2 separate regions of the Homo sapiens genome follow, and region 1 is linked to region 2. Evidence: promoter capture Hi-C in human tissues and cell types (Jung and others, 2019). All regions are on one chromosome and are shown on one strand. Each heading gives the region's core, a stretch centred on a gene start or on the middle of the fragment in contact. The rest is flanking DNA. Distances are from core to core; before and after follow the strand shown.

What was found. Contacts are between HindIII fragments. The study calls those that stand out against the background at their distance.
Region 1: a contact is called between a fragment that was not itself captured here and the fragment with the promoter of SEC24A in region 2, in 1 of the 25 tissues and cell types used here (mesenchymal stem cells).

The regions. Positions count from the first base shown.
Region 1 is chr5:134,341,431-134,348,669 of GRCh38, forward strand. The region is part of intron 4 of CDKL3 (cyclin dependent kinase like 3); the gene reads right to left. Among named protein-coding and RNA genes, the nearest start is that of CDKL3, 22 kb to the right of the region's middle. RefSeq lists enhancers at 3,625-4,323, 4,324-5,023. The HindIII fragment of the contact is 9,284 bases long and covers 1-7,239 here.
Region 2 is chr5:134,644,409-134,651,012 of GRCh38, forward strand. SEC24A (SEC24 homolog A, COPII component) reads left to right here and starts at 4,377. Exons shown (of 23, transcript NM_021982.3): 1 at 4,377-4,765. The coding sequence starts at 4,669. RefSeq lists enhancers at 3,918-3,977, 3,988-4,277, 4,025-4,562. The HindIII fragment of the contact is 35,050 bases long and covers 1-6,604 here.

The DNA.
Region 1 (7,239 bases), core at 1,672-4,171, 300 kb before region 2:
CTAAAGAATCCACTAAACTACTATGAGAACCAATAAACAAGTTCAGCAAAGTTGCATGATAATGATATGAGTTAAGAAGAAATTATTTAGGCAGGCAGTGAGGGTACGGGATCCTCAGTAAGGTTTTCCTTTTAATGAAAAGCAGCCCCAAATCATTTTCTTTTCTAACAAAAAGCAGCCTGTAAAATTGTGCTGCAGACACAGACACGCAAGCTGTAAGCTTGCACAGGTGAATGCCAGCAGTTGTGCCAACAGGAAAAGGCTACCTGGGACTAAGCATGTTCAAAATGGTGGCTCCATCTTCCCTTCTCTTTGCCAAACCACATGTAGAGTAAGAAGACAATATGGCCCCAGCCAGGCAAAGATCCAATTTGCATAATAAGATTAGAGTGGGGCAACCAGCCTTCCCCTTGCAGTATGTAACTGTCACACCTGGTCGAACCAATCTGTGGGCCCTACATAAATCAGACACCATCTCCTCAAACCTGCCTATAAAATCTAATGCAGTCTGCTGCGGGCCAGATTTTGCTTTAGGAGGCCCCTCTTTCTCACTAGGGAGAAAGCTGTTCTCCTTTCTCTTTCTTTTGCCTATTAAACCTCTGCTCCTAAACTCACTCCTCATGCATGTCCATGTCCTTCATCTCCTTGGCACGAGATGACGAACCCTGGGTATTTACTCCAGACAATGACACCACTTCAATATGAACTCAATATACAAAAATAAGTTGTATTTTTATGCCCGTGCAATGAACAATTTGAAATCAAATTAAGAAAACTCCATTCATGATAGCATCAAAAAGAATAAGATACTTAAGAATAAATTTTACAAAACAAGTGCAAAATGTATGCTTTGAAAACTACAAAACATTGTTGAAAAAATTATGGAAGCCGGGTGCGGTGGCTCACGCCTGTAATCCCAGCACTTTGGGAGGCCGAGGCAGGTGGATCATGAGGTCAGAAGATCGAGACCATCCTGGCTAACACGGTGAAACCCCATCTCTACTAAAAAAATACAAAAAATTAGCCAGACGTAGTGGCGGACGCTTGTAGTCCCAGCTACTCGGGAGGCTGAGGCAGGAGAATGGCGTGAACCTGGGAGGCGGAGCTTGCAGTGAGCCGAGATTGTGCCACTGCACTCCAGCCTGGGCGACAGAGCAAGACTCTGTCTCAAAAAAAAAAAAGAAAAAGAAAAAGAAAAATTTATGGAAGATCTAAATAAATGGCAAAACATTCTAAATTCACAGATTAGAATAAGAGTTAACATTTTTAAGACAGCAATAACCTCCAAACTAATCCACAGATACAATGTAATCCATATCAGAATCTCAGATGTCTGTTTTGCAAAAATTGAGAAGCTGATCTTAAAATTCATATGGAATTGGAAGGGACCTAGAATAGCCAAAACAATCTTGGAAAAGTAAATAAAGTAGAAAGACTCACACTTTCTGATTTCAAACTTGCTACAAAGCAATAGTCATTAAGACAGTGTGTCGGCTGCGTGCGGTGGCTCCTGCCCGTAATCCCAATGCTTTGGGAGTCCAAGGCAGGCAGATTGCTTGAGCCCAGCCATTCAAGACCAGCCGGGCCAACGTGGTGAAATCCCGTCTCTACAAAAAATTTAAAAATTAGCCAGGCTTGGTGGTGCACCCCTGTAGTCCCAACTACTCAGGAGGCTGAGGTGGGAGGATTGTTTGAGCCTGGAAGGTGGAGGTTGCTGTGGGCCAAGATCATGCCACTGCACTCCAGCCTGGGCAACAGAGTGAGATCTTGTCAAAAAAAAAAAAAAGGAAAGAAAGTGCGTTGCTGGAAAAAGGACAGCCTTACAGATCAATGGAACAGAATTGAGATTCTAGAAATAAGCCCTTATGAAACCACCTTTGCAAAATTATGACTGAGACAGTGAAGGAGATCTAACTTAATTGACTCCATCTTGCTTCTAACCTCCAAGCTGTCCTCGTTCATTCCTGGGCGTAGGCTGGACTAACTTCAGGAGAAACTTCGTTTATAGTTTATAGTTTAACACAAAGACAGTAACAACCCTTTCCCAAAGCAGACTTCCTTCTTGCCTGGGGACCAGATTGCCTTTGTAGGACTAACATTAGCCACAAGATTAGAAATTATGGTTTAGGAGTCATGTAGCTGAAGGCTACAAGATTCTGACCCTCCATAAACTGCTCCTAAGATCAGTGCTTGAGATATTTTGCAAACCCTGTACTTGATGGATCAGCTGGCACCACCCATATTGCTAAACTGGCTTATCTGATCTCATGGCCGCCCCAGACCCAGGAAGTGATTCAGTGCAAGAAGACAGCTTCCACTCCCTATGATTTCAAACCTGATCAATCAGAACTCCCAGCTCACTGGCCTCCCTCTACCCACCAAGTTGTCCTTAAAAACTCTGCTCCCTGAATGCCCAAGGAGACTGATTTGAGTAATAATAAAACTCCAGTCTCCTGCACACTCACGCCGGCTCTGCGTGAGTTATTCTATCTCTATTGCAATTCCCGTCTTGATGAATCGGCTCTGTCTAGGCAGCGGGCAAGGTGAACCCCTTGAGCAGTTACACTTACATCTATAGTCAACTGAATTTCAAAAAGAGCCCAACACCATAATGGGGAAAGAACAATATTTTCATCAAATGGTGCTGGGACAACAACTGGATAGCCAAATGCAAAAGAATGAACTTGGACTCTTACCTTATAGCATATACAAAAATTAACTCAAATGGATCAGACTTGAATGTAAGAGCTAAAGTTATAACTCTTAGAAGAAAATGTAACTGTAAATCTTCATAACCCTGGATTTGGCAAACAATTTTGAAATATGATACCAAAAGCATAGGCAACAAAAGAAACAGATAAATTGGACTTCTTAAAATTAAAAACATTTGAAAATCAAAAGACAGAATCAAGAAAGTGAAGACACAACCCATAAAATGGAAGAACATACTTGTAAATCACATATCTGATAAGGAATTTGTATCTAGGATATGCAGAAAATTCTTACAACTCAATAATAAAAAGACAACTCATTTTAAAAATAGGCAAAGGATCTGAACAGACATTTCTCCAAGGACAATATACAAATGGCCAATAAGCACACGCACACACAAAAAGACATTCAACCTCAGTAGACATTAGGGAAATGTGAATCAAACCCACAATGAGATACCACTTCACACCCATTAGAGTAGCTAGAATAAAAAAGTCAGGCTTCAGCGTGGTGGCTCACACCTATCATCCTAACACATTGGTAGGCTGAGGCGGGAGGATCACTTAAGCCCAGGAATTCAAAATCAGCCTAGTCAAAATAGCGAGACCCTGTCTCTACAAAATAAAAAAGCCAGCCATAGGCTGGGTGCAGTGGCTCACATCTGTAATCTCAGCACTTTGGGAGGCCGAGGCAGGTCGATCACGAGGTCAGGAGTTCGAGACCAGCCTGACCAACATGGTGAATCCCCAGCTCTACAAAAATACAAAAAAAAATTAGCCGGGTGTGGTGCCATGCGCCTGTAGTCCCAGCTACTCAGGAGGCTGAGGCAGGAGAATTGCTTGAACCCAGGAGGCGGATGTTGCAGTGAGCCGAGATCACGCCACTGCACTCCAGCCTGGGCGACAGAGAGAGACTCTGTCTCAAAAAAAATAAAATAAATAAAAATCTATAAAGATAGAGAAGAGAGTAGTGATTGCTTAGGGTTAGGGAGGGAGTTCAGAGGTATAGGGGTGTCATAGATAAAGGGTATGGGGTTTTTACTGAGGTGATGAAAACTGACTGGTGATGGTAGTACATATCTGTGAATACACTAAAAACCACTGAAATTTACTTCAGATGGATGAACTGTATTATATAAAAATATCTCAATAATGCTGTTTTTAATAAAGACATAATATGGCTGATACCAGGTCTGGGGCAACAACATGTGAAAAATGAGCCTGGACTGCTATCTTGTCAGTCAGGTCACAAGGAAAGTATCAGAGACTACATACTAGGTCCTGTTAAAAGGACTTGGGAAGCCACCTTGAAAAGGCACCTTTCACTCGTGTCCGTGTGAAGAGACCACCAAACATGCTTTGTGTGAGCAACAAGGCTGTTTATTTCACCTAGGTGCAGGCGGGCTGAGTCCGAAAAGAGAGTCAGCAAAGGGAGATGGGGTGGGGCTGTTTTATGTGATTTGGGTAGGTAGTGGAAAATTACAGTCAAAGGGGGTTGTTCTTTGGCAGGCAGGGGCAGGGGACACAAGATGCTCAGTGGGGGAGCTTTTGAGCCTGGATGAGCCAGGAGAAGGAATTTCACAAGGTAATGTCATCAGTTAAGGCAGGAACAGGCCATTTTCACTTCTTTTGTGATTCTTCAATTACTTCAGGCCATCTGGATGTATCCGTGCAGGTCACAGGGGATATGATGGCTTAGGTTGGGCTCAGAGGCCTGACAGCACCCACTGATTTTGAACTTCAGTAATAATAACAATTGTGTCCAGGCTTAGACTATGATACCTGAAAGTATGGTGCTTTGGCATGATACATACTTTGAACTGAAGGAGATTAGAAGGGTCTCAGAAACAAAATCTCTCTGACCTTCTCCTGCTCTCCTTTCTCCCCCAAGGTGTATCACAGAAACCAGGATTCCTCTTCCGCCTGCCCACCTCCAGAGCGATTAGAATTCCTCTTCCCCAAAGCAAGCCATAAAACATAGAATGGTCACTCTCTGATCCACCTCCCTTGAAAGTAAGTCATAAGACCTTCATTCCAGAGAGGTCCTGCCCATACCTGGAAGGAAGGAATGCAAAACAGAGAGGCCAGGAAGAATCTGAACAAACAGGCCTTGCTGGGTTTATTACCATTAGATCATACTCCTTTTGCCCAATCATGTTTCTCTACACCTATCCACTCCTTTCAGCAAACAGCATAAAATCAGACAGTGTTCTCCCTGGGTCTTTGGGTTTTCATTTATGAAGGCTTCCATGTCACATTGAACTTTGTTAAATTTGTCACGCTTTTCTCTTGCTAACCTATCTTTTGTTATAAGGGTATTGGCTGTGACTCTTGTTACAGGTAGGGAAAAGGTATTACCTTTTTTTGTTTTTGAGACGGAGTTTCGCTCTTGTTGCCCAGGCTGAGGTGCTGCGGTGCGATCTCGGCTCACCGCAACCTCTGCCTCCCGGGTTCAAGCGTTTTTCCTGCCTCAGTCTCTCGAGTAGCTGGGATTACAGGCATGCACCACCACGCCTGGCTATTTTTGTATTTTTAGTAGAGACGGGGTTTCTCCATGTTGGTCAGGCTGGTCTTGAACTGCTGACCTCAGGTGATCCGCCCACCTCGGCCTCCCAAAGTGCTGGGATTACAGGCATGAGCCACCGTGCCCAGCCGGGAAAAGGTATTATCTTTTTGCCCCGATAATTGCAATGCATTGAAACCCATTAAATATGTTTAAGTCCATGAGTTCATAATGATATTTCTAAAAAAATTAATTAGTTGCTTTTGGAGGTCACCTGTTGGAGCCAATTCATCTTTAAAATTGATAAACAAATCAAGCATTTACCCAGTTTCTCTATGTGAACTATACCATTAGGTAACCAAATAAGGGGAAATGTCCATTTATAAAAGTATTCAAGTAATAAATTAAAAAGAGATGATAAAGTTAAACCTCCATAGTAATGAAATATGATAATATTAGGGTAAACAGAAACTGGGTGAGGACTATGGGGAAACTCTCTATACTATCTTTGTAACTTTTCTGTAAATCTAAAATTATCCCAAAATAAAGTTTACTTTAAAAAAAAAAAAGGCTAGGATGGCTATTAAACAAAAGAACATAATGGTAAGTGCTAGCAAAGACATGGAGACACTGAAACTCTCACACTCAGCTAGTGGGAATGTAAAATGGTACAAACACTTTGGAATACAGTCTGGCAGTTCTTCAAAGACTAAACATAGAGTTACTGTATGACCCACAATTCTAACTCCTAAGTATATACCCAAAAGAAATGAAAACATATGTCCATACAAAAACAAGTTACACGGACACCCATAGCAGCATTACCCATAATAGCTAAAAAGTAAAAATAACCCAGATGTCCATCAGTTGATGAATGGGTAAATAAAAAGAGCTCTATCCATTCAGTGGAATATTATTCAGCCATAAAAAGGAATAAAGTGCTGGCTGGGCACGGTGGCTCATGCCTGTAATCCCAGCATTTTGAGAGGCCGAGGCGAGCAGATCACTTGAGGTAGGGAGTTCAAGACCAAATGGCAAAACCCCATCTCTGCTAAAAAAAAAAAAAAAAAAAAAAAAGAAATGAAGTACTAATACATGCTATGTTAAGTGAAAAAAGCTAGTCCCAAAGGACCATATATTATATAATTCTACTTATATGAAATGTCCAGAATAGGCAAATCCATAGCGAATGAAAGCAGATAGGAGTTTATCTAGGCCTGGAAGGGTTGGGAGGAAACGGAGAGTTACAGTGGGTACAGGGTTTCGTTTTGGGGTGATAAATATGTTCTAAAATTGACTATGGTTATGGTTGTACAACTCTGTGAATACACTGTAAACCACTTAATTGTACATTTTAAATAGGTGACTTGTAAGATATATGAATCATATCTCAAAAAAGGCTAGATTAAACTAAATGGAGGCACATTTGGGTGACAAAACTTCTTTAAAATGCAAGGAAATGGCCAGGCCTGGTGGCTCACACCTGGAATCCCAGCACTTTGGGAGGCTGAGGCAAAAGGACTGCTTGAGGGCAGGAGTTCGAGACAGCCTGGGCAACATAGTGAGACCTGTCTCTATTATTTTAAAAAATGCAAGGAAATGATTACAATAAAAATCAGTATCGTGGTTGCTTTGTAGGGAAGGGAGCATGTTACAACTGCAGTAGGGCACACAAAGGGTTTTCTGGGGTGGTGGGCAAAATCCTATTTTTTGATCAGGTGGTGGAGCTATCCATTTGTTATGTGAGATATTCTGTGTCTGTGTTTTCTTTTACAATAAAAGTTTTCAAAATGGACTCACTAGCAAATTTGTTTCAAACACAATGTGAAGTCTCCTAGAATCCAACCTTACTGTGGGCCAGGCACCAAGTTTGGTTATGCAGAATACAAGAGATTATGCCTATCCTTGAGGAACTTAACTTTTAGTGGGAGGTTAAAAAAAAAAGAGCTAGAGAAAGAACTAGCCCATGTTAAATATTAACTGACACAAAATTTACAGATAATGTACTAAAAGATGTCAACTAGG
Region 2 (6,604 bases), core at 3,127-5,626:
AAGGTTGTATATATGGCAGAAGGATTCTGTTTTTCTGGACAATAAAGATAAAAAAGTAGAATATATTACTGACATCAGTTTAGAAAAATGTATAGTAGTGTAGTGTACATACAGGTAATTGAACAAAGAAATATCAATAACAATTGGTAAGAGCATTTTTTTTTTTTTTTTGAGACAGAGTCTCCCTCTGTCGCCCAGGCTGGAGTGCAGTGGCAAGATCTCAGCTCACTGCAACCTCTGCCTCCCAGGTTCAGCAATTTTCCCTGCCTCAGCCTCCCAAATAGCTGGGATTACAGGCGCCCGTCACCATGCCTGGCTAATTTTTGTATTTTTAGTAGAGACAGAGTTTCATCATGTTGGCCAGGCTGCTCTCGAATGCCTGACCTCAAGTGATCCACCCACCTTGGCCTACCAAAGTGTTGGGAATACAGGCGTGAGCCACAACGCCTGGCCAAGAGCAATTGTTATAATTGCTATCACCAATAATTTTTTCATATTTCTGTGGCCACACTTAAATGAGTCATCAAATGATTTGATATTGTGTGGATAATACTTAATATGAAAACTTTTAAAATATGTTGTCCCATCTCAGTTACTTAAACTTACCTTCCTACTATCCCAAAGGTTAGGCAGATGACAAATGCTGTTTTTCTTCTGTCTCTCTCTCTCTATATATATGTATATATGTATTCTGAGACAGGGTCTTACTCTGTTGCCTAGGCTGGAGTCCAGTAGCACAATCAACCTCCCAGGCTCAAGCGATCCTCCCATCTTAGTCTTCTGAGCAGCTGGGACTACAGGCATACGTCACCATGCCCAGCTAATTTTTTGTATGTTTTTGTAGAGATGGAGTTTTGCCATATTCCTCAGGCTGTTCTCCAACTCCTGGGCTTAGGGGATCCACTTGCCTTGGCCTCCCAAAGTCCTGGGATTATAGGCGTGAGCCACCATGCCCAGCTCTCCTCAATACTGTAGTGCTGATTACACCGAGAGTGTAAAAACCATTTGAAATACTTAATCATTGCTTTGAGGACACGAACAGTAACATAGCAACTTAGGGGTGGAACAAATTTTAGAGAAAGCATTGTTTACTTATTAGAAAATTATTTATGTTGATTTAACCTGATTTAACCAACTAGACTACTTTTTAAAATCTCTGGGGCCAGGCACGGTGGCTCAGGCCTGTAATCCCAGCACTTTGGGAGGCCAAGGCAGGTTGATCACCTGAAGTCATGAGTTCAAGACCAGCCTGGTCAACATGGTGAAACTCTGTCCCTAGTAAAAATACAAAAATTAGCTGGGCATGGTGACATGCGTCTGTAGTCCCAGCTACTCGGGAGGCTGAGGCAGGAGAATCACTTGAACCCGGGAGGCAGAGGTTGCAGTGAGCCGAGATCGCACCACTGCACTCCAGCCTGGCAACACAGCGACATTCCGTCTCAAAATAAATAAATAAATAAATAAATAAATAAATAAATCTCTGAACACACAGATATTGCTTAAATAGCTTGAACCCGGGAGGCAGAGGTTGCAGCAAGCCAAGGTCGCACCACTGCACTCTAGCCTGACGACAGAGCGAGATTCCGTCTCAAAAAAAAAAAAAAAAAAAAATCTCTGAACACACAGATACTGCTTAAATAGCACAAAGTTCAAAGAAACCTTGATTTAACCAAATCAAACCACTGTGCCAAGGTCAAAACAAATCAAGATCATTCAAAAGGAGCTGAATAAAAAGAGATAATTAAACTAATGCAGGTTTGAGATCAGGTATTTGCCTCTTTGAAGAGTGACCCTGATTTTGTCTGACCTCAGAAAGGTTGTTTCTCTCTGAGCTCTATTTCCTCTTCAAAACATTGAGAGGCTTGTGTCTGTGCAATTTTAAAGTGTTTTTGGATCTATAACTTGGGATTTTGTTATAGTGGCTCCAAACTGTAAACAATTTGACCAAAAGTATCATCTTCATCTTAAGATTTTAACTGGGCGTGGTGGCTCAAACCTGTAATCTCATTTTGGAAGGATGAGGCAGGAGGATCTCTTGCAAGACCTTCTCTTTACAAAAACAAACAAACAAACAAACAAACAAATAAAAACCTAGCCAGGCATAATGGCACACACCTGTAGTTCCAGCTACTCAGGAGGCTGAGGCTGGAGGACTGCTTGAGCCCAGGAGGTTGAGGCAGCAATGAGCTGTGACTGCACCACTGCACTCCAGCCTGGACAACAGACTGTCTCAAAAAAAAAAAAAAAGTTATTGTACTTGGATCTTGTACAAAGGAATTGAATTGTTAAATGCTACTTACAGCAAATATTTATTTATTTTTATTTTTTATTTTTTGAGACAGTCTTGCTGTGTCAGCCAGGCTGGAGTGCAGTGGCACAATCTTGGCTCACAGCAACCTCCGTCTCCTGGGTTCAAGCAATTCTCCTGCCTCATCCTCCTGAGTAGCTGGGATTACAGGCATGTGCCACCACACCTGGCTAATTTTTGTATTTTCAGTAGAGACAGAGTTTCACCATGTTGGCCAGGCTGGTTTTGAACTCCTGACCTCAGGTAATCCGCCCGCCTTGGCCTCCCAAAGTGCTGGGATTACAGTTGTAAGCTACCACGCCCGAGCAAATACATTTTTAGTAAAGTTCTGAGGCAAATGATGAAAACAGGGTTAGTATAAAATTTAGTATTTAGTTATTTGAATTTTTACTGACCTTTTTTAGGCCTGACACAGTGGTTTATTCTTTTTCTTTTCTTAGAGACAAGATCTCACTCTGTCATGCAGGCTGGAGTGCAGTGGTGAGATCACAGCTCACTGTAGCCTCGAACTCCTGGGTTCAGGTGATCCTCCCACATCAGCCTCCTGAGTAGCTGGGACTACAGGGATGTGCCACCACACTGGCCACTTTTTAAAAATTTATTTAATTAAAAACATTGGCTGGGCATGGTGGCTTACGCCTGTAATCCCAGCACTTTGGGAGGCTGAGGCGGGTGGATCAACTGAGGTCAGGTGTTCAAGACCAGCCTGGCCAACATGGTGAAACCCTGTCTCTACTAAAAATACAAAAATTAGCCAGGCATGGTGGCAGGAGCCTGTAATCCCAGCTACTCGGGAGACTGAGGCAGGAGAATTGCTTGAACCCAGGAGGCGGAGGTTGCAGTGAGCGGAGATGGCACCACTGCACTCCAGCCTGGGCAACAGACCAAGACTCTGTCTCAAAAATATATATATATATATATTTTTTAAATAGAGATAAGGGGACTCTCCCTGTTGTCCAGACTGGTCTCAAACTCCTGGCCTCAAGTAATCCTTCTGTCTCAGCCTCCCAAAGTGCTTGGATTACAGGAGTGAGCCACCTTGCCCAGCCCGACACAGTGGTTTAGATCTGGCTTTTTTTTGTATGTAATATAACACTTCATAGCAGGCATTTGGTATTAAATGAATTAGGTAAGATGTACTTCACACTGAGGTTTCGAAACCGCGTGGCATGACATTTTAATCCACAGTACAAATCTGTAAAGGAGGGCTTTATCGTCAGCACAGAGCAGGAAAAACCTAAATAGAATGAAGGCAGCTAAGATGATTACTCAATCATTAATTAACTATGTTGTCCAATCACCGCAGTTTCGACCTCCCTTTGGCTTCAAAAGTCAAAAAAGTCAACTTGCAAAAAAAAAAAAAGTCTACTTGCTCTGAAAGGAAGTTTGAGTTCTTTACCTTACTGTAAACTCTTAGAAGAGGAAACAAAACTGCCATTTAAATGTGCTAATGAACTTGAGCGTGACTATGCTGTGAATCAGCGAGTTTCAAAATTAAAATTCCTCTGAGTCCTCCAGTCAAAGACAAAGGCCTCCTTCTTGGCTTGATCACACTATTAACATGTACACATATTTAACCACCTCTTTTTAAAACCCCTTATAATTTACATCTGAAACACGAAGACGAAATGTGAATGAAATACTGCGATGAACATTAACCGCCCCAGCTCCCAGTGGTGGTACGGTCTCAACAGAGGACGATGACTTCTATGGTCTCAGGTAATCTTCACAAAACCCGAGGAGAGGAACTGTCAGTCCCACCCCACGAAAGCGGCTACTGAATCTCAGATTGCCCCACGATCCTGGCTCTGCGAGCGAGGTCACGTTCACAACGGCGGGAATTTCCGTAGCGGTGACACACGGCACTTCCGGCCGGCCGTGAGAGTCGGTGACGTGGCGGCGAGGCCGGGCACGGTCGTCGGGGTCGGGGCACCAGGAGCTGTCAGGTGGCCTCGGGGCAGCCCGGCTGGCAGAGAAGAGTTCGCCGGCGCGGCGGCGGCTGCTGCGAGCCCGGAGCCGGAAGTGCCACGTGTCCTGATTGCGGCTGCGCGGCCGGCGGCTGACAGGCACTTCCGGCCAGGGCCTCCCTCCTTCTCTCTAGGTTTGGCTGCCGCCTTCTAGCCGGGCGTTCGCGGCCCCGCCGGCCCGACTCTCAAGCCTCAGCTCCCAGGCTAGGCTGTGGCCGCCGGTGGCCTGGGGAGAGTGCGGCGCCATGCCTCGGGCTTAATGCGCCCCCCCCTCTTCTCCCAGTCTTCAGTCTTAAGTCGTTAGCCTCCTCCCTCCGCTTTCAGCAGTGGTCTTTCAGCTCTCTTCTTGTGCGCTGTTGTCGACCCCGACCAGCCCCTTCCAACCCAGTCATCATGTCCCAGCCGGGAATACCGGCCTCCGGCGGCGCCCCAGCCAGCCTCCAGGCCCAGAACGGAGCCGCCTTGGCCTCGGGGTCTCCCTACACCAACGGTGAGTGCTGTCCGGGGGGAGGGCGCAGCCTGGCCAGGGCTGACTGACCTTTGCGTGCCACTGCTGCTTGAGGCGACATAGATAGAGAGAGTGACCTCCTTACCGGGTTCTGGCGCGGATGGTGGTGGGCGGCTGGGCCAGGGGACCACGGCAGTTGTGCACCTGTAGCCCCAGGCTCGTCTCAGTCTTTCACATTTATTTAGTCGGTCACCAAAACAGTAAATGAGCACCTGCTGTATGCAACGCCCTGGGTGAAACACGGGTGAGAAAATGCCTCAAAACTCGAATATAAGGATCATAGTGTTTGTGTGCCTTCGCCTTCCTTGCCACCTCACCCCAGTCTCCTAGAGAGCAGGATGTGGGGTCTGATTCTTCTGGGTTCCGCAGGCCCTGAAGTGGGGTGGGGGTCGTACTCAGTCTGAGTTTCTGGAGATGAATGCATGCTTTTGGGACACCCCTTTAGGGCCTACTCATCTCTCCCAGAACCTTCCCAGAATTGTACCTACAACAGCTGTTCAATGTTTCAGCTGTGGAAAAACCAAATAGAAGGGAGGATCTCCTGGTTGACTTCTAGATGTCTGGACAGCATTTGGAAAGTGGGTGGACACAACTCTCTGAATCTCTGACAAGAGTCTACATGTACATTATAGTTTGTCATTTGATGTGAGAATGTCTTATAATTTTATACCTCTTCTAGGATTCCTTAAATCGTCCTACATTGTGATTTGCTAAGATTATTTCAGTTGTTACAATAGACAAAGACTTTCTGCCGACAGATTGCCTACTTACCAATTTACTTACAAATCTTTGGTTTACAGAAATAAGACTAGTAGAATAATGCTAAAGAACTTAAGTTGCCCATTAGAGTCTAAGAGTTCTGTGAAGTTGGAGAATACAGACAGTGACTAAAATCTCTAATTTACATTGTTTTTAGAGAAGACCGCTGTTTTCTTTACAAAGATGGCTCTAAAAGACTTTTAAAAATGTCTGTGAGTAGGCAACTATGTGGGCAGAAGAAAGAATAAGTGGAGGAAAGCCACTGAAAGGGTACTGAGTTAACCATTCTTTCTCAAAATTATGGTAACAGATTATGTACACTACATTTTATTCTAGAATATTTAGTAACATTTACACTGAGGATGAGAAAAAATGTTACATGGCTATGGATTTTTCTTATAATCTATAAATTGCAGTTTTACATTAACTTTAAATGACAAATCCTCAAATGTGCTTCAACATTTATATATGAGTGTAGTTGTCATAATATTGAAATGTTAAAGGGATTTGACCACTGTGGTATGCTGTATTAGAGATACTGTCACTATGTTGATTTGATACAGTCCAACAGACATTTGTTCCACATCTTTTTTTTTTTTTTTGAGATGGAGTCTTGTTCTGTTGCCCAGGCTGGAGTGCAGTGGTGGTGATCTTGGCTCACTGCAACCTCTGATTCCTGGGTTCAAGCGATTCTCCTGCCTCCTTAACCTTCCAAAGTGCTGTAATTACAGGCCTGATCCACGGTACCCAGACCTCTTTTTTAAAATATAATTTTCATAGTCTTTTTATAAGTTCCATTTCTACAGGGTTTTTTGTTTGTTTGTTTGTTTGTTTGTTTTTTGAGACGGAGTTTTGCTTTTGTCTCCCAGGCTGGAGTGCAATGGCGCTATCTCGGCTCACTGCAACCTCCTCCTCCCAGGTTCAAGCAATTCTCCTGCCTCAGCCTCTGAAGTAGCTGGGATTACAGGCACGTGTCACCACACCCAGCTAATTTTTATATTTTTAGTAGAGACGGGGTTTCACCATGCTGGTCAGGCTGATGTCAAACTCCTGACCTCTAGT